Linked DNA regions of Homo sapiens: all the other regions are linked to region 3. Evidence: promoter capture Hi-C in 16 types of primary human blood cells and fetal thymus (Javierre and others, 2016). All regions are on one chromosome and are shown on one strand. The core of a region is centred on a gene start or on the middle of the fragment in contact, and the rest is flanking DNA. Distances in the headings are between cores, read along the strand shown.

Region 1 (2,700 bases), core at 45-2,544, about 25 Mb before region 3:
CTTTTTGGTACCTATTAATAACCACTTCCAGCTTCCCCGTACCCTCTCACTATCCTTCCCAGCCTCTGGTAACCATCCTTCTGCTCTCTATCTCTGAGTTCAATTGTTTTGATTTTTAGATCCCACAAATAAGTGAGAACATGAGGTGTTTGTCTTTCTGTGCCTAGTTTGTCTCACTTAGCTTATATGGCCTGCAGTTCCATCCATGTTATTGCAAATGACAGGATCTCATTCTTTTTTTTTGGCGGAATAGTACTCCATTGTGTATAAGTACCACATGTTCTTTTTCCATTTATCTGTTGATGGACATTTAGGTTTCTTCCAAATTTTGGCTATTGTGAACAGTGCTGCAACAAACATGGGAGTCAGCAGTGTTTTGTAGTTTTCTTTGTATATGTCTTAGACCTTTAATTTATTCCTTATTCTTTTTGATACTATCATGTGGAATTGTTTTCTTAATTTTCCTTTTGGATGGTTTATTGCTGCTGGGTAGAAATACAACAGATTTTTTGCTTGTTGATCTTGTGTCCTGCAGCTTTGCTGAATTTATTAGCTTCAGTAGTTTCTTTGGTATATTCTTTAGGATTCTGCATATGTAAGTTCAGTCATCTGCAATAGGGATAGTTTGACTTCTTCCTTTCTAATTTGCATGCCTGTAATTTATTTTTCTTGCCTGATTGCTCTGGTTGGAATTTCTAGTACAAAGTTGAATAGACCATGTGCTTTTAAAGATTATTTTGAGGTACCCTGGCTGTGAGTGACCTATATCTGCAAATAGTTTGTTAAAGGTAGAGGTCTCTAATGAGTTGTAAGTGGGGAGGTTGTCAGGATATAGTAGTGGTCCTCAAATCATCAGATCAGACTTCTGGTTACCCAGCCGTGTGGAAGCAGCTGTGACTGGAGAGGTAAATCTGAACACAAAGCTTCTACAGTTGACCAATACTTTACTCCTTGCTTCTTTCTGATGGCGATAATAAACTCCAAGAGCAGATTACTAGCTGCAGTATGTTTTAAAAAGAATTAATTTCTCAGATAATATGTGTGTTGCAGTAAAGTTAGGAAATACAGAGAAACAAAAGGAAGAAACTAAAAATCACTCAAAATCTCACTGTCTACAGATTATACCAAAATGTTAACTAATAGTTGTTTTGCCTTTAGGCTTTTAAAAACACAAAAAAACTAGATCACAGTGAACATTCTGTTTTGTAACCCACATTTTAAACTTAATTATGTCATGAGGAACTTTCTGTGTCAATGAATACACTTATAGAGCATTATTTTTAACATCTTCATTTTATTCTCATCATGAGGCTGTTTGTGGTACTCTGGTGTATTTGTACAGGTACCTTGTAAAAGTTTTTAAAAATTAATTTGCTTTTTATTATTTTATTTGATAAATGAGTAATATCTAACAATTGTAAGCCATATTTTTATTTGTAAATATATATTTAGAATTTTAAAATTCCTGAAACAAAGTAACCATAACTATATATCTCTCTGACAGTGGAAAATAGGGAAGATTTTATTTTATTTTATTTTATATTTTGGTGTCTAAGTTTTCTTTGTTCAGCCTGTCTTCCTGGTTATAATCTGTTAGACTCTGTGGTTATATATCTGACTAGTGGAAGTAAATTTCCTGTTTTGGCAACTGCTGTAGAAAGCTTGGCAGTTTCGACTTGTTTTTCTGGTTAGTTTTATCTCCTTTGTTTTCTTTCACCTAATGGCAAGTGACTCAGACAGTTCTGCTTACCCTTTACCTCTTATGCCAGAATGGTTTCCCCTTTTGACTGCTTTTGTCCAGGGCCAAGTAAGTAATTGTTATAAGAATATAAGTAATGCAAGTCTAAACCAAAGGTTGTGGTTGGGTTTTCTCTACGGTGTAAATTCTAGTCATCTCATGACAGCAGCCTAGAAAACTGTAAGGGTAATAAGACTTCTAAGACCAATTTTTGAGCAAGGGGAAAAAGAAGACCATGGTCGATTATGAATACTAGCCATAAACTTAGAGTAGTGATGTGCTGATATGCAAGCCAGATTGCTGTTATTTGTATTACAGGCTATGACAAGGAAGGAAATCACAGACACACAGAATAAATGTTGAGTACAGATTTGGAAATCTTGGTTTTATTTATTTTGTTTAACTTTCATTTCAACCTGTGTCAAGATAGGTGATTATTGATCTAGAATCCCTTTCTGGACTTCTAGTCTAAATAATCCTCATCATAAAATAAATCTTTTAAGTGTTTCTTTTTCCTAAATTTCTGAGTATTTTTTTCTTCTTGCCCCTAAGAACATCGTTTCTTTTTAAGAATCAGAACTCAAACCATCTGGTGTGTAATGGGACAGCCCTTCTCTTGTACTTACAGTCAGTTTCCTGCTGTAGATGTCACTGTAATATAGGTAGGTACAGGAATGCTTTAGTATACTGCCACAACAGTGTGTGCATCGGCTCTTTCCTTGTCATTTCCAGTGTCCCGTTGTATCACTTGCTCTTGTTTTCCAGTCACTTGTGTGGGTATCTTTCTCTATGTCTTCTGAGCTTTGAAGGTTTTGTGCTGTGGTTCACTAGACTCACAGAATTAGTCCTGGATTTCATCAGAATTCAAAGCCTGAGTTTGGTTCCTAGACCCAGAGTACTCTTCTATTTATTTATTATTCTTATTTTATTTTGTTTTTAGAGACTAAGACTCGCTCTGTTGC
Region 2 (2,700 bases), core at 143-2,642, about 25 Mb before region 3:
CATGGCCAAAACCTGTCTCTACCAAAAATACAAAAAAAATTAGCCAAACGTGGTGGCATGTGCCTGTGGTTCCAGCTACTAGGGAGGTTGGGGTGGGAGGACTGCTTGAGCCTGGGAGGCGGAGGTTGCAGTGAGCTGAGATCGTGCCACTGCACTCCAGCCTGGGTGACAGAGTGACACTCTGTCTCAAAAAAAAAAAAAAAAAAGAGAAAGAATTCAGTGATAGTTCAGTGATAGATTAATAATGTTTGCCATGGACTTAGCAAAGGAAAGTAGTAATTCACATGCCATGCAATTGCCAGCCTTGGTTTATAGTAATTGTAATAAAAGACCTTGTTATAACTATTCCAGTAGTCACTGTTTGAATTTCTATTGTAAAGTAACCATCATAGCTGGGTTCAGTTCATGGCAGCTAAGTGCTGTGTATAAAGCAGCCCAAGGGAAGGTAAGTAATGACTACTCTGTGGCCAAGTACCATATTAGTTATTTACATAAACTAGTTCTAGTCCTCACAACAGCTCTGCAATGTAGATTTCTTATCTCTCTTGTACAAATGAGGAAACATTCTCAGTAAGTTAATTTATCCAAGGGTATACAGCAAGAAAGCAGTAGAGCCAGGATTATAATCCAAATCTGTCTGCCTTAAAAGCTTGTGTTCTTTCCAGCACATCCTGCAGCCTCTACAATAATATGGTGTCTACTCACTTTTTTTAATTATTAAAAAAAAGTGTGCAAAGTACTGGAGCAAATGCAAAAAAGCTTATCGATGACTTTTGATCCAATGGGGAATTCAGATATTTGTGAAAATGATTACAATATAATGTGGTTGGTACTTGAGAAGAGATAGCTGTAAGTGCTACACAGTAAAGGTAGCTGCTAAGTTTCCCTGGATCAGGAAAATTCCACAAAGGAGATGATTTTGAGCTGAGGCTTGAAAGATGAATGGGAATTATCCAGATAGGCAAGAGGAGAGTTATATATCTGGAAGGCTGGTCCTATGAAGATAGAAGAGATGTCCAATGTATGGTTGTTGGTCTAAGGAGCTCAATGTGCTCTTGGCAGTTGTTGCACATCTGTACGGGATGCCAAATGTAAATAGTGCCCCCAAATGTGAATTGTATCCCTGGAATTGCGCAAAGTGGTGGCCCTGGACCATGGAGAGATACCACAATGTCCTGGGTAGAGCCTTGCTCTGTCGCCCAGGCTGGAGTGCAGTGGTGTGATCTCAGCTCACTGCAACCTCTATCTCCCAGGATCAAGCGATTCTCCTGCCTCAGCTTCCTGAGTACCTGGGATTACAGGCGCCCACTACCATGCCTGGCTAATTTTTGTATTTTTAGTAGAGATGGGGCTTCACCATGTTGGCCAGGCTGGTCTTGAACTCCTGACTTCAGGTGATCCGCCTGCCTTGGCCTCCCAAAGTGCTGGGATTACAGGTGTGAGCCACCGCGCCTGGCCTCTGGGTGTTTAATATATGTTATTCTCCAATTTAATCTTTACTGCCACCTTATGAACAAGGATCATGCACCATTTATAGCTGAGGAAACTGAGCTCAGAGATGCTATGTAACTTGTCCAGGATTATACAGATAATAAGTGGCAGATTTGGAATCTGAATGCATGTCACCCTGATTTCATTTTCACATGATCACTTCTTCTGCATTGTACATACTACCTTACACACAACGCACATACCACATTGTAAGCACTGGACTTTGTACAAAGCAGATACTCAGCACACCTTAGTAAATGTTTGTGGATACACTTGGAGAGCTCTAAAACAGACACAATGCTGGAGAATCGTCTCCCTGCCTGTGTTTGTAATATCTCTGGTGGATGTTATCTTGATACCTTGGGAGTATCAGTTGTTTAAGAGATACCCCTTATCTTTTCTAGGACAAAAGTAAGAGTTACCCCAAGAGTCACTGTCAGATTCTCACCATGTCAGAGACACTGTGCTGCTGCTTTTATACATACTTTCTTATTTCACCTTCACAGCAACCATTTTTATAAATCAGGAAGCTTTCTGTTTCAAGTAATAGAAGCCTAACCAAAACTGGCTTAAATGATTACAAAATTCATTCATTCATGCAACTGGAAAGCAAGAGGCAGTGTGGTCTCCAGGGTCAGCTTGATCCACGACTCTGAATGTCTTTCACTTCTACTGTATCCTGCGTGCCGATGGAGGCTGTTTGTCCCTGAGGTTGTTGGAGTGAGTTGTCATGTTAAGGTCAACAGAGAGAACCCAAGTAGCCTCGTATTTTGGAGGAGACACCTAAAATCATATGACCTTGAGATTTGAGTGGACAATGGGCTTCTTTCTCAAATTTAGTTTTTAGGTCCTATGTTCCAGTATTTTAATTTTTCTCTGTTCTCAACCACATGGATGCTCAGTAGAAACATCCCCAGCTTTCAATTTCATCTCTCGCAGGAAGCACAGACAGGCTTTTTTTGAAAGGACGCCACTCATTCATTCTTTTGCTCAGCAAACACTTAGCTCCTACTCAGTACGTCCTATGCTGTGCCAGGTGCTGGGCCCACGGAAATGAAGAAAGCCCAGTCCCTGCTCTCAAGGGGCTCTGTAGGGAGACAGACACAGAAACCACTAACTTTGACTGCAGTGTGGTGAGGACAATCACAGGAGGGGTGAGTGAAACCCTGTGTGAACCCAGCCTTGTGCTAGGCCACATAAAGACTAGTC
Region 3 (2,706 bases), core at 177-2,676:
GAGGCTGGAAGGTTGACGAGTAAGGATGTGGAAAGCGGGTACTACCAGGGCTGGAGATTTCCCAGGGCTGTCACCGATTGAAAGTGACCTTATGTGCCTTAACAAAGGAAGTCATGAAAGCTTGGCACAGGAGCCTTAAAAGTAAGGAACCGAATACAATGCAAGTGTGCGCTGAACCCGCTAGAACAGGAGCACGTTTGAGGGCAAGGGTTTTTGTCTGTTTTCATCACTGCCACAAGGCAGGCGCTTTGAATGGAACGTGGAGGTCTGCAACGTATTCAGCGATACGCATTCATTTTAGGAGACAAGGGCAATACATATTGCCTAAAAATTTTATCGGAATAAACTACAGCGACGACACTACAAAATACTTCCATCTCAGGTCCCATTACCCAAGAGGAAAGTCTCAGAACCGAGAGCCCTGTGAAACCGCCTGTGCCCTCTCGGCGAGAAGTTCTCCAGTACTCCCAGGCTCGCCCCGCGTTTCCCCGGCTCCCGCCCCGGCGCAAGGCAGGCCGAGAACCGCCAGCTGCGCCCCCGGGCCCGGCCTTGACTGACGGGCGCCCCGGACCATTACAAACAACGGGTTTCCGAAGCGTGGGCCCGGCCCAGCGGACGCAGACGGCCCGCACTTACCGCGCCGCAGCTCGTCCCACAGCCCACAGACCACAGCCCGGGGCGGGGTAAGGGGCTTCGGGCACGAGTGTGGGCTGTGAAAACACGGGCATAAGTCTGGGCCGAGCACCGACCTGGGCGTCCCGCATTTTCCTCGCGCAACATCGGTCCCTGGGCAGCGCAACTGTAAGGACAGGAACCGCCGCGGCGCGCTCCCAGTTCCTTTTTTACCTCTTCCCGCCCGATTTGCCGCGCGCTCGCGCCCCTCCTCCAACCCCAAAGGACTCCTTCGGGGCTGGAAAACGCCCCTTCCCCGCCCCCTCCCTGTGCGCGTGAACTAGGCAGTTGTTAGATCTCGCGAGAGGTTCGCCCCCTAGCCGCCCCTCCCCCCAGCTAGTGAGTGCGCGAACGAGAAAGGAGGAGGGCGCTCCAGGCGACAGCACTGCAGACGCCATTATCCTCTGTTTCTCTGCTGCACCGACCTCGACGTCTTGCCTGTGTCCCACTTGTTCGCGGCCTATAGGTAATTGGAGTTATTGGAGCTTGGGTATTGCTGATTCGGGTAAGGGTTGGGGCTCCCTGAAAGGCTGCGTTTACTTTTCCCAAGCCCGGGTTTTCTCGAGCCCTTAGTGGCCTCCCAGCCCGAAGGGAGGCGCTGGCGGGAGGCGGGGTTGTCGCCTCCTCCGTCGCCTTGATTGACGTGGCCTCGGGCCAATCGCTTCGCCCTCGCACCATCGCTGAAGCCCTGGCAGCCAATAGGGCGCGACGGCGGGGAGGACGCGAGAAGGCGGGGGAGGGGAGCCTGCGCTCGTTTTCTGTCTAGCTCCGACCGGCTGAGGCGGCGCGGCAGCGGAGGGACGGCAGTCTCGCGCGGTGAGGAGCCGGGTTGGGGGAGCGGCTCGTGGAGGTGAGGGTCGGAGCCCAGTTTTTCCGCTTGAGGGAGGCGTCCTGGGAGCCGCTTTGGTGTTTGGCCGCTTCTCCGAGTGGGAACGTTGCCCGGTGTCCCCTCCCCCACCTCCGCCATTTCCCTGAGCGTGTATCCGCAGTCCGCGTTGTGGTCCTAGAGACTTGGGGATTCGTGAGGCATGTGCCTCTAGGATGAGCTGGAGCTATGTGGCACTGGGAACTAGGGACCTCGTGGAGGAAAGGAGGCCGGTGCGGGGAGAAGGTCGCGCCGCCGCTCTCTTTGTGTGAGCCCCGCCTCACCTTGGGTCTCCCGGCCCGGGGTCGGAGCTGGAGCGGCGGGGATGGAACGGTCAGGGCTGCCTCGATGGCTTTGTCTCGGGCAGTGGGGGGAGGATGCGGGGGATGAGACCTCGGGACCGCGTGGTGGGTGGGGGAGGGGGTCGGCGCTCGGCTCCGCCTAGTAGCACGTAGTCGCCATTACGCGGGCCGCCATTTCCTGTCGGATCCGGGTGAGGAGAGGTGCGGTGCTTCTGCTGTCGACTTTCGCTTTTTCCCGTCCTGTTACCCGGCTGTTTTTGATCTCGGTGCCGGGAGGCGGGGAGGGGAGGGCGCGTTGGCGCTCGGCCAGTGGAGCACATACTTAGCGGATTTTTGAGGCCTGGGGACTAGTGACTGCAGGACCCGAAGGGTGAACGGCAAGCGGCAACGTTATTCTTACAGATAAGCCCTGCTGTTTTTGCTTAAACTTTCTTATCCAACTCTTCTCCCACCACACCTCAGAAATTGCGTGCTGGGCCGGAAGGATGTCGTTTCAGTTGTCGTTAGGAGAGCAATAAGTCGACCAACGGTATGGGAGAATGGGAGGCATAAATGTGCCTCGCTTGTTGGCTCTTTGCTGTCTAGCCAACCTTCTAGTAGAGGCCGCTTGTCAACTCCTAGTCCCGACAAGAGGGAAGCTTAAAAAGGCTGTTTGTAGTCCTATCGACCGTTTTGGCACGTAGACACTTTAGTTTTCGTGTTACAGGCATGATTGTTGTGTTGTACTCCCTTAAGCCTAATTTAAAATAATCCGCTAGTGACTGTTAGTTTTCAAGGGCTCCATTTGTTTCGCTGATTAATAATAGACTGGTATTGTGGTAGTTTGGGTCTGGTCCTATATTAGATTTTTGGATTTATCCCTCCGGT
Region 4 (2,700 bases), core at 108-2,607, about 29 Mb before region 3:
CATCAAAATGCTCATGTGTTAGGCTTTATATCTGGATTAAAGTCAAGTCAGCAAGAACTGGTCTCAGAGGAATTCATTCCTCCAGAGCAGAGGCAATGTGTGAGATTTAAGAACTCAGGCCTTAGCATCTGGCAGATCTTTAAATTTGAATCTTAGCTCGCTACTTGACATAGAGCAAGAAACATGAGTCTCAAATATAAATCAGGGAACAGCAGGACCAGAGCTGATGCACAGGAAGCACCTCGCATTGTAGAAGGCACTCAATAGCTGCTTGGTATAGAGTAAATACATGCTTGGTTTTCAGTAAATAAATACTTGATATTGAAACGATTATTTCAGTCATTGATCCATGCACAAGAAAATTGTGCATCATAAACATTTTACTCTTGAGCAAACATCAATTATTAAAAACATATGTTCAAATTCATTATCCATTCTATTTAATTAAATGCTTGAGGCGCTTGGGGAGCTTACATTTGTGATTTAAGTCTGTGCGTTTTTCAAATGTATCTTTCGGAAGAGATTAAGACACTGCAATTTTAAGCAGGGCAGGTGGCTCACGCCTGTAATCCCAGCACTTTGGGAGGCTGAGGTGGGCAGATCCCTTGAGGCCAGGAGTTCAAGACCAGCCTGGGCAACAAAGCGAGACACTGTCACCATAAAAAATATTTTTTTAAATTAAAAAGAGTGCAATTTGAACACATGTCAATATACGATTACCTTTTAATTCAAATGTGTAGCTATCTACTGTGCTGGAATCAGGTGGGCAGCAGGTGATCCCACTAGTGGCAACTTGGTGTTCTGCGATGTGGCACATCCACTTCTTAAATGCAGATTATTGCACTGTAATAAAAATCCTCCATATTCAGTGCTTTCATTGTGTATAATTATGTAAACTGTAGACAAAAAATATTCCTGAATTTGTGTGTGTGTGTGTGTGTGTGTGTGTGTGTGTGCGGATGCGCAATCCGAGATGGTTGTTAAAGCTCGAAAGCGAGTTTAGCTTCTAGAGTCGCCCCTCCTCCGAGGCCCAGCCGAGGTGGACTCGCACCGTCGCAAGACCGGCCAGGCGGTGGCAATGAATAAAAAGCCAGTCTTGGTGCTAGGGACCCAGGTGTTCTCCGTCCCGCCCCTGCCTGGCAGCCCCGCCCCTCCCCCGCCCCGGGCCACGCCCCACCCTGGCCCAGCCCCCAAAAGTACCGTTTGCATCTCCCGTGAGCCTCTTCGACTGTCACTCTTTGGAAAAAAAAGTGACGTCTGCACTGAGGTGGCCGCTAAAGTGCGAATCACGACGGGCGGTGGCCGTTGGGTCCCGGCGGGAGGCGGGGTTTCCGCTCCCTGGGGCGCACGTCAGTCAGGAGGCGGAAGCGCAGCGGGGGCGGGAAGGTTGTAGTGCCGCGAGTTGAGCTCCTCTTGCCTAAGTGGTCGCGCCCCCTTTAAGAGCAGCGATTGTAAGGAGAGGCGGTCCCGGTGTCCTCGGGTCCCAGGTAAGTACGACAGTCTGGAGGCACCGGGCAATAGAAAAGTGTGGCTCCGGTGCTAACCTGTCGCCGCCGTCTTTGTTGCTACAGGCAGCGACCTCCCTTCCGACCTTGCCACCTAACATTTCTGGCTCCTACTTGCTTCCTTCGTCTCGTTCACAGCCCGGGCCCAGCCGGCTCTGCACATCCGTAGGCAGGGACCTTTCTGGCACGCCAGTCTACCCTGTCACAAGATGGCCCTGTTGTCCTCCAGTCCTAACCCCGCATTGCTCGCTCTGTGTTTCAGCCGCTGGAGACACCTAACGATTCATTTACTAAAAACCGGTGTCTGTTTTCTATCCCTTGTGTCTTTCCCGGGCTCCCTAGACTAAGGCATCACTCTTTGCTGCCAATGAAATCAATTCTTTGCCTCCGGCACTGTGCCCACCTTTTAAAGAGCGGGTTTGTTAAGCTTTTTTTTTTTTTAATTAATAGTATGGTTGCTTGAATAAGACTTTATTTTCCCTTCTGAAAGCAGGATTAGGGTCTTGCTCATCTTGGATCTCCCCAGGATTTAGTACGAAAGCACGAAGTTTGGAAACCAGCAGCCCAAATAATTCCTACTAGCTCTATGACCCTGGGTACGGTTTCCTCATCTATAAAATGGTGATAAATAAATAAAGGAACTAATTTCGAGCATGTTACACAGTGTATGGTGCAGAGCAGATACAGTACTCCTTTACCTTTTTTAGCTTTCAGTGTACACAGTAGTTTTTGGGTATGTGTTTTAGACGAATGCAGAGACACCATAGATGAATGATTTTTCTTCCTAGCACCATGATTATATTGACTCTATCAATTGGTTGATATATTTGGTAAATACAACCTAATGACGTTTATTAAAGACAGTAATGCTAAATGGTATGAACATCTGCAAGAATAAACAATGCCGTATTTAATTAAATGCTTGAGGCACTAGCAGAGTTTACATTTGTTTCAGTCTGTGTACATTTCAAATGTATCTTTCTTTCTTTTCTTTTTTTTTTTTTTTGAGACCGAGTCTCGCTGTCTCGCTCTGTGGCCCAAACTGGAGTGCAGTGGCGCGATCTCGGCTCACTGCAACCTCCGCCACCCGGGTTCAAGTGATTCTCCCGTCTCGCCCTCCCGAGTAGCTGGGACTGCAGGCGCTTGCCACCACACCCGGCTGATTTTTTTTTTTAATTTTATTTTTAGTAGAGAC
Region 5 (2,700 bases), core at 44-2,543, about 29 Mb before region 3:
TGACTGTGAGGGGAAGCCCAAGAACTCCAGTGAGTCTGTGGACGCTACGCTGGGACACTATCTCCTTAGCCACACCTTGTCTAAGCCAGGACTACCCCAGGATTGTTTCGAGAATGATACCAGGTTAACCAAAGAAATACTTATGTAAGATACAGATAGGGTGGAAACTGGAGGCAGAGGAGTCCGCCACAATTGATGTTGATTTAGGGCTGTCGCAGGAAGACCCAGGGAAACCCACGCCAAAGTTGGGGTGGGGATGTGTCTGCCTCCAAAGTATCCTCCTTTCCATCACCCACCGCCAGAATATCTTAGCTCTTCTGCACCTCATCCGCGTAGAATACAGGTGGACTCTAGAAAGGGGACTTTCCTCGAGGTGTATGCTACAGTCTTTCAATAGTCACTCTGTAAGGGCACACAGTGCTTAAGGGCTGATAAGGTTCTTGTTCACCCACTAGCTCACTATGTCCTGAATCAAAGGACGAGGAATCCAGTCTCAGTCTGCCCTTTACTCTTTGTGACCTCGGACTAGTCACCCGGGTGCTTAGTTCCTTCGTCTCCCTATCTGTAAATTCTGAGATTACGAGGAGGCCGGGATTGAAATCCATGGCCTCTGAGCTCTAAAATCTTCTGGACCAGCAGGCACATGGAAGAACTGGACAAATGGCCGGTTGCATACACGGGGAAACTGAGGCACCGAGCACCCCGGCCCAAGGTCACTCTGGCTATGCCACTGCAGGGGCCGGGCCGAAGCCCCAGTCTTTAACCCTCCAGTCCCGAGCTCTTTCTCCTTCCGCGGAGCTGAGGAAAGCGGCGAGGAAGGTCCTTGTCCCGCTGGGAAAAGGACGGTACCCATGCACAGGGGTGCGAAAGAGGGGCCGAGAGAAGCCTTACCTTTCCAGGTCAAGTCCAGCCACTAGCACCTCTCTCTCCGAATCTTAACCCGTCACCCCCTCACGACTCTTCGAACGGCCCCTCCACTTCTACCCGGCTCGACGTGTCCACCACCGCCACCGAGGCCGAGGATTTCCCGCCCCCTCCCGCCCCCTAGCATTACCGACCAATCCCTGCAAGGGGCTGTGAAGCTCCGCCCCGCTGCGGGCTGGAGAGGCCTGACGTCACTCGGCGCTCGTGCCCGCGCGAGCCTCTCATTTGCCTTTGCCCCACCTTCTCCAGAGCCCAGTCTACTTTCGGTCCAGAGACCGTGCTGGAGTTCGCCCTGCCGGAAAGCAGCACGCCGCCGCGGCATTTTACGACGTCGGCGGTGACAGGCCCTGGGACTCTGGGAATACCCAGCTTCCTCCCCGCAACCCGGTGAAAGCCAACGCAATGTTCGGTGCGGGGGACGAGGACGACACCGATTTCCTCTCGCCGAGCGGCGGGTGAGTGACTGAGAAGTATGCGCTGGAGGGCGTGGCTGAGAGATACCGGCGGATTGTTGGAGGGGGGTCGATCTCTTCTCAGGCCTTTTCCCAACTTCCGGGGGGAGACCCTTGCCACATTCCGGTGCTCTACACCTCTCAGAATCTGGGCAGAACTTGCAACTGTGCTGACCCTGCCGATCTGAGGTTCGGGACCCGGCATCTCTCTTGGCGGGAAGATAGCCCTGGGTTTGCCTTTTGCATTCTGGGTCACAATTTCTCCGGTGAAATGGGAATGATTGCTGATGAGACTTCCTGCCTCAGAATTTTTATAGGAGTCAGCTGGGGCTGATGTGAGACTTCTTTTCTCCATGGAGAAGGCGAAGACACTTTAGAACCAGGCCTTGGTGGGTCAGCTCTAGCATTCTTCAAGGCCCAGCTCGGATGTCACGTTTTGGATGCTTTTCCTTCTGCAACCTCAGGCAGAATGAATTGCTTTCTCTTCCTTATTCCTGCAGCTAGGTGTGTTTGCCTCTATTCTTATACCCCGCACCTATTAGATTATGAGTCCTCACCGGACAGGGACTGCTTATGGTGTTCATTTCTGTCTAGCATGCAGCATGGTACCTAGCACATAGTGAGTGCTCAGGAAGTGGCTGTTGAATGAATAATAGCTGCGAAATTGCACTTTGTAAAGCTTAAAGCTTAAAACCAACGTAACAGACTTCTGTCATTCTCCAGTTTCCCCAAGCATTATATTAATATATACCAGCCTGGAATAGAAATCTTTAAAGAGAGGAAGGGTTTTGTCTCTTTTAGTAGTCAGTTTAGCCTTTTCCATTGTGTTGTGCCAGTGGACAGCTTGACTTCCTCCAAACTTGTGAGCTACCAAGCTCTGATCATTGCAGAGCTTTTCTTTGAACATATGCTTAACAAATTTTGTGCGTGCTGAAGAATGTACTGGAAAAATGACAAATGCACCACATATGCCCCTTATTCTGCTAAATGCTAAGAGGTTACAAAAATGATTAAACTGCTGTGCCTGCCCTTAAGTTGCTTCCAGATCTGTTGGGCCATGTGGTTTCTATTGCAACCACAAATACTCAGTTCTGCCTTGTAGGGTGAGAGTAGTCATAGACAATACATAAACAAATGAGTTAATAGATGAATGACCATAAAATGACACTGGCCTTCTTTTGTCCTTAAGTAGGAATTTTTGATTTACACTGACTAGCTCTATATTACCTACCTTTTAGTCTTTTTCACTCTCACCACTCTGTTCCCTTCCTACCCCGTCTTTAGATGGCCTGCATTCACTTAGTTCCACTTTGAGTTCTTTCCG
Region 6 (2,700 bases), core at 108-2,607, about 30 Mb before region 3:
TGGAAGGCAGAGGCCTGGCTCAGGAAAGGCTCACTGGTTTAGGCGCCTGGGGGCAAGTGCGAAACTCTAGTCAGTCACTGCAGCTGCCTCTGACGTGCACCTTCCCCTGGTTACAGTGAGATTTCTGCCACGACTGAGTCATCCCAGAAGACAGGATGTTCCTCTTTGTGCACCCAGAGGGCTCTGTGATTGGGCAGGCTGCTCTGTGGCAGAGCTAGAAAAAAAGCCCTTTAAAAAGTCAAAAAACCGCACACCTCCCCCGGCCCCTTCCTCAGCAGAGGCTTCAGAATCAGAAAAGCAACAGCTAAATTGTAGCCTCTTCTCCACCTGCCATAACAGCAGGAGCCAGGAGGCCTAGTGAACTTCAAAGGGCAGGCCCTGCCTGAGGCCCTGGTTTAAAATGCAGATTCCTGGGCCCTATCCCAGGGCCACTGAGTCAGGCTCTCTGCAGGTTGTTTCAGGAAACTGCACGCTTAGAGGATTCTTAAGCACACTGAAGCTTAAGATCCCTGGCAGGGATTTCCAAGAAGGGTACAGGCCCTGCAGAAGGTATGAGAAGCAAGGATTAGAGCTTCTATTTAAAATATAGTTGACCAGCTGGGTGGGTGGCTCATGCTTGTAATCCCAGCACATAGGGAGGCCGAGGCAGGAGGATCATTTGAAACAAGGAGTTCAAAACCAGCCTGGGCAACGTGGCAAAACCCCATCTCGACAAAAAAAAATTTTTAAAATTAGCCAGGCATGGTGGCGCATACCTGTGGTCTTAGCTACTCAGGAGGCCGAGGTGGGAGGATCGCTTGAGCCCAGGTGGTCAAGGCTACAGTGAGCTCTGATTGCCATTGTACTCCAGCCTGGGTAACAGTGAGACCCTGTCTCAATAAAATAAAATACAGTTGATCCTTGAATAATACAGGGGTTAGGAGTGCCTCATGCAGTCAAAAATCTGCTTATAACTTTTAACTCCCCCAAAACTTTATCAATAGCCTGCTATTGACTGGAAGCTTTGCTGATAACATAAACAGTTGGTTAATGCATATTTTCTGTCTTATATGTATTATGTACTGTTTTCTTACAATAAAGTAAGCCAGAGAAAAGAAAATGTTATTAAGGAAATCATAAGGAAGAGAAAATCTACTTACTTTCATTAAGTGGAAGTGGATCATCATAAAGGCCTACATCCTTGTCATCTTCACATTGAGGAGGAGGAGTTAAGGGGGAGATTGATCTACTGTCTTAGGGGTGGCAGAGGCAGAAGAAAATTCACATATAGGTAGACCTGTGTGGTTCAAACTGTCATTAAGGGTCACCTGTATATATTTTCTTTTTCCTTTTTATTTTTAGTAGAGACAGGCTTTTGCCACGTTGCCCAAGCTGGTCTCAAACTCCTGAGCTCAAGTGATCTGCCCACCTCGGCCTCCCAAAGTGCTGGGATTGCAGGTGTGAGCCGCTGTACCTGGCCCATTTTCGATTGCATCTTTTTAGAAGATCACTTTTGAAAATACTCTTTCCAATACATGTAATATATTAGCGTGATGTGTTCGAGCAAATATATTTTTACTGATGGATTGTGTGATTAAAAAAATATTGGGGTACCACTAGGCCAGAATTGACAGTTGCAAATCTTGCTGTGGCAGGAAGTAGCTGGGTGATCTTAGCCAAATTCTACCCTCATGTTTGTAGGAGGGCAGATTGAGAATTTAAAAGTAAAGCTTCAACCCAGGCTGGCGCCGAGTGGGCTCTTCACATGTGGTAGGGACTGTGGGGCTGGAGGACAATACACAGGGTGATCTGGAGGAAATTGTAGGGCTCTGCATTTGGGGGTAGAGAGGAAGACTGGGCGGGGACAGAGGATAGAAGCCCCGAACACCCATCCACAGAGCAGGAGTCGCAGCCAAGGAGGGAAGAATGGTATTCCCTGCACCTCCCTCCTCCAGCCCTTGAGAAGTCAGCCTTTCCCGGGCTGCACTGTTCCCTGGGGAACTTTGTGTCCAAAAATAGTTGCCTGCTGACTTTTCTCAGCCACACAAATCAAGCAGGATCCAAGTGTTCATGAGGATAAAGGGACAAACACAGACCTTCTGTCCTGGGAGGCCTGGAGTCATACTGCCTTCAACACAGCATGCAGGGGAGAAAGCCCAGACTGTGGGCCAGGAGGCTGACTTTCACCCCTGCCTTGTCCTGACCCCTGTGTGGCTTTAGGCAAGGCCTCTCCCCTCTCTGGATCCCAGTTTCCCCATCTGTGGAAGAAGGCCTTTGTGTGAGCTGCTCTGGGGGCCGCTGCACTGATGGGCTGCAGTTCTCTGAACCCTCCATGGCAGGGAGCTCCCTGGGGGACCGTGCCCACTCTGGGTCAGCTTTGCACTTCCTGGGCCTGGCTCAGTGCTGGCATAGAGGAAGCGCTTAGGGAAATAGCAGGAGCGTCAGAAGGAAGAGGCAAAAGGAGATGAGAGGGAGAAGGAAAGAGGGAAAGAAGGAGAGGGTTGAGGGAAGGCAGCGGAGGAGCCCTTCTCTGGCTACCCTGTTCCTGCAGCAGCCGCCTGACGGGTCCCCCGTGTGGCCAGCCTCCCTGGTTCATTCTCCCAGAGCAGCCCAAGGGGAACTTTTAAACCACACCTCTGATGGGCTTTCCCTGTGTTCAATACCCCAGCCATCGGCGGCGAAACCACTCCCAGGTCCAGGAAAGCCCCTGGTAGGCTTGCT

The links. Contacts are between HindIII fragments. The CHiCAGO score rates a contact against its expected background, and 5 or more counts as called.
Region 1: a contact is called between a fragment that was not itself captured here and the fragment with the promoter of HNRNPK in region 3, in 2 of 17 cell types (total CD4 T cells and activated CD4 T cells). The highest score is 6.1, in total CD4 T cells.
Region 2: a contact is called between a fragment that was not itself captured here and the fragment with the promoter of HNRNPK in region 3, in 1 of 17 cell types (activated CD4 T cells). The highest score is 10.2, in activated CD4 T cells.
Region 4: a contact is called between the fragment with the promoter of INIP here and the fragment with the promoter of HNRNPK in region 3, in 2 of 17 cell types (activated CD4 T cells and fetal thymus). The highest score is 8.5, in activated CD4 T cells.
Region 5: a contact is called between the fragment with the promoter of FKBP15 here and the fragment with the promoter of HNRNPK in region 3, in 1 of 17 cell types (fetal thymus). The highest score is 5.4, in fetal thymus.
Region 6: a fragment that was not itself captured here is called in contact with the fragment with the promoter of HNRNPK in region 3 in 1 of 17 cell types (fetal thymus); the score reaches 9.9 in fetal thymus.

What each region holds. Positions count from the first base shown.
Region 1 is chr9:109,101,092-109,103,791 of GRCh38, reverse strand. The region is part of intron 3 of TMEM245 (transmembrane protein 245); the gene reads left to right. Among named protein-coding and RNA genes, the nearest start is that of TMEM245, 18 kb to the left of the region's middle. The HindIII fragment of the contact is 738 bases long and covers 926-1,663 here.
Region 2 is chr9:109,123,405-109,126,104 of GRCh38, reverse strand. No RefSeq gene overlaps it. Among named protein-coding and RNA genes, the nearest start is that of TMEM245, 4.8 kb to the right of the region's middle. The HindIII fragment of the contact is 1,262 bases long and covers 762-2,023 here.
Region 3 is chr9:83,978,935-83,981,640 of GRCh38, reverse strand. It overlaps HNRNPK (heterogeneous nuclear ribonucleoprotein K), which reads left to right and starts at 1,426. Exons shown (of 17, transcript NM_031263.4): 1 at 1,426-1,488. RMI1 (RecQ mediated genome instability 1) reads right to left here and starts at 836. Exons shown (of 3, transcript NM_001358291.2): 1 at 750-836. RefSeq lists silencers at 423-502, 1,313-1,452 and enhancers at 147-655, 713-802, 823-892, 1,023-1,082, 656-1,163 and 2 more. The HindIII fragment of the contact is 2,357 bases long and covers 123-2,479 here.
Region 4 is chr9:112,716,774-112,719,473 of GRCh38, reverse strand. It overlaps INIP (INTS3 and NABP interacting protein), which reads left to right and starts at 1,357. Exons shown (of 5, transcript NM_021218.3): 1 at 1,357-1,487. RefSeq lists a silencer at 1,146-1,305 and an enhancer at 1,676-1,775. The HindIII fragment of the contact is 2,113 bases long and covers 1-1,934 here.
Region 5 is chr9:113,219,870-113,222,569 of GRCh38, reverse strand. It overlaps FKBP15 (FKBP prolyl isomerase family member 15), which reads left to right and starts at 1,293. Exons shown (of 28, transcript NM_015258.2): 1 at 1,293-1,379. The coding sequence starts at 1,327. It overlaps SLC31A1 (solute carrier family 31 member 1), which reads right to left and starts at 1,026. Exons shown (of 5, transcript NM_001859.4): 1 at 892-1,026. RefSeq lists enhancers at 115-304, 1,145-1,254, 1,365-1,494. The HindIII fragment of the contact is 3,588 bases long and covers 1-2,057 here.
Region 6 is chr9:114,383,048-114,385,747 of GRCh38, reverse strand. The region is part of intron 1 of AKNA (AT-hook transcription factor); the gene reads left to right. Among named protein-coding and RNA genes, the nearest start is that of AKNA, 3.6 kb to the left of the region's middle. RefSeq lists enhancers at 54-103, 124-193, 2,226-2,700. The HindIII fragment of the contact is 708 bases long and covers 1,004-1,711 here.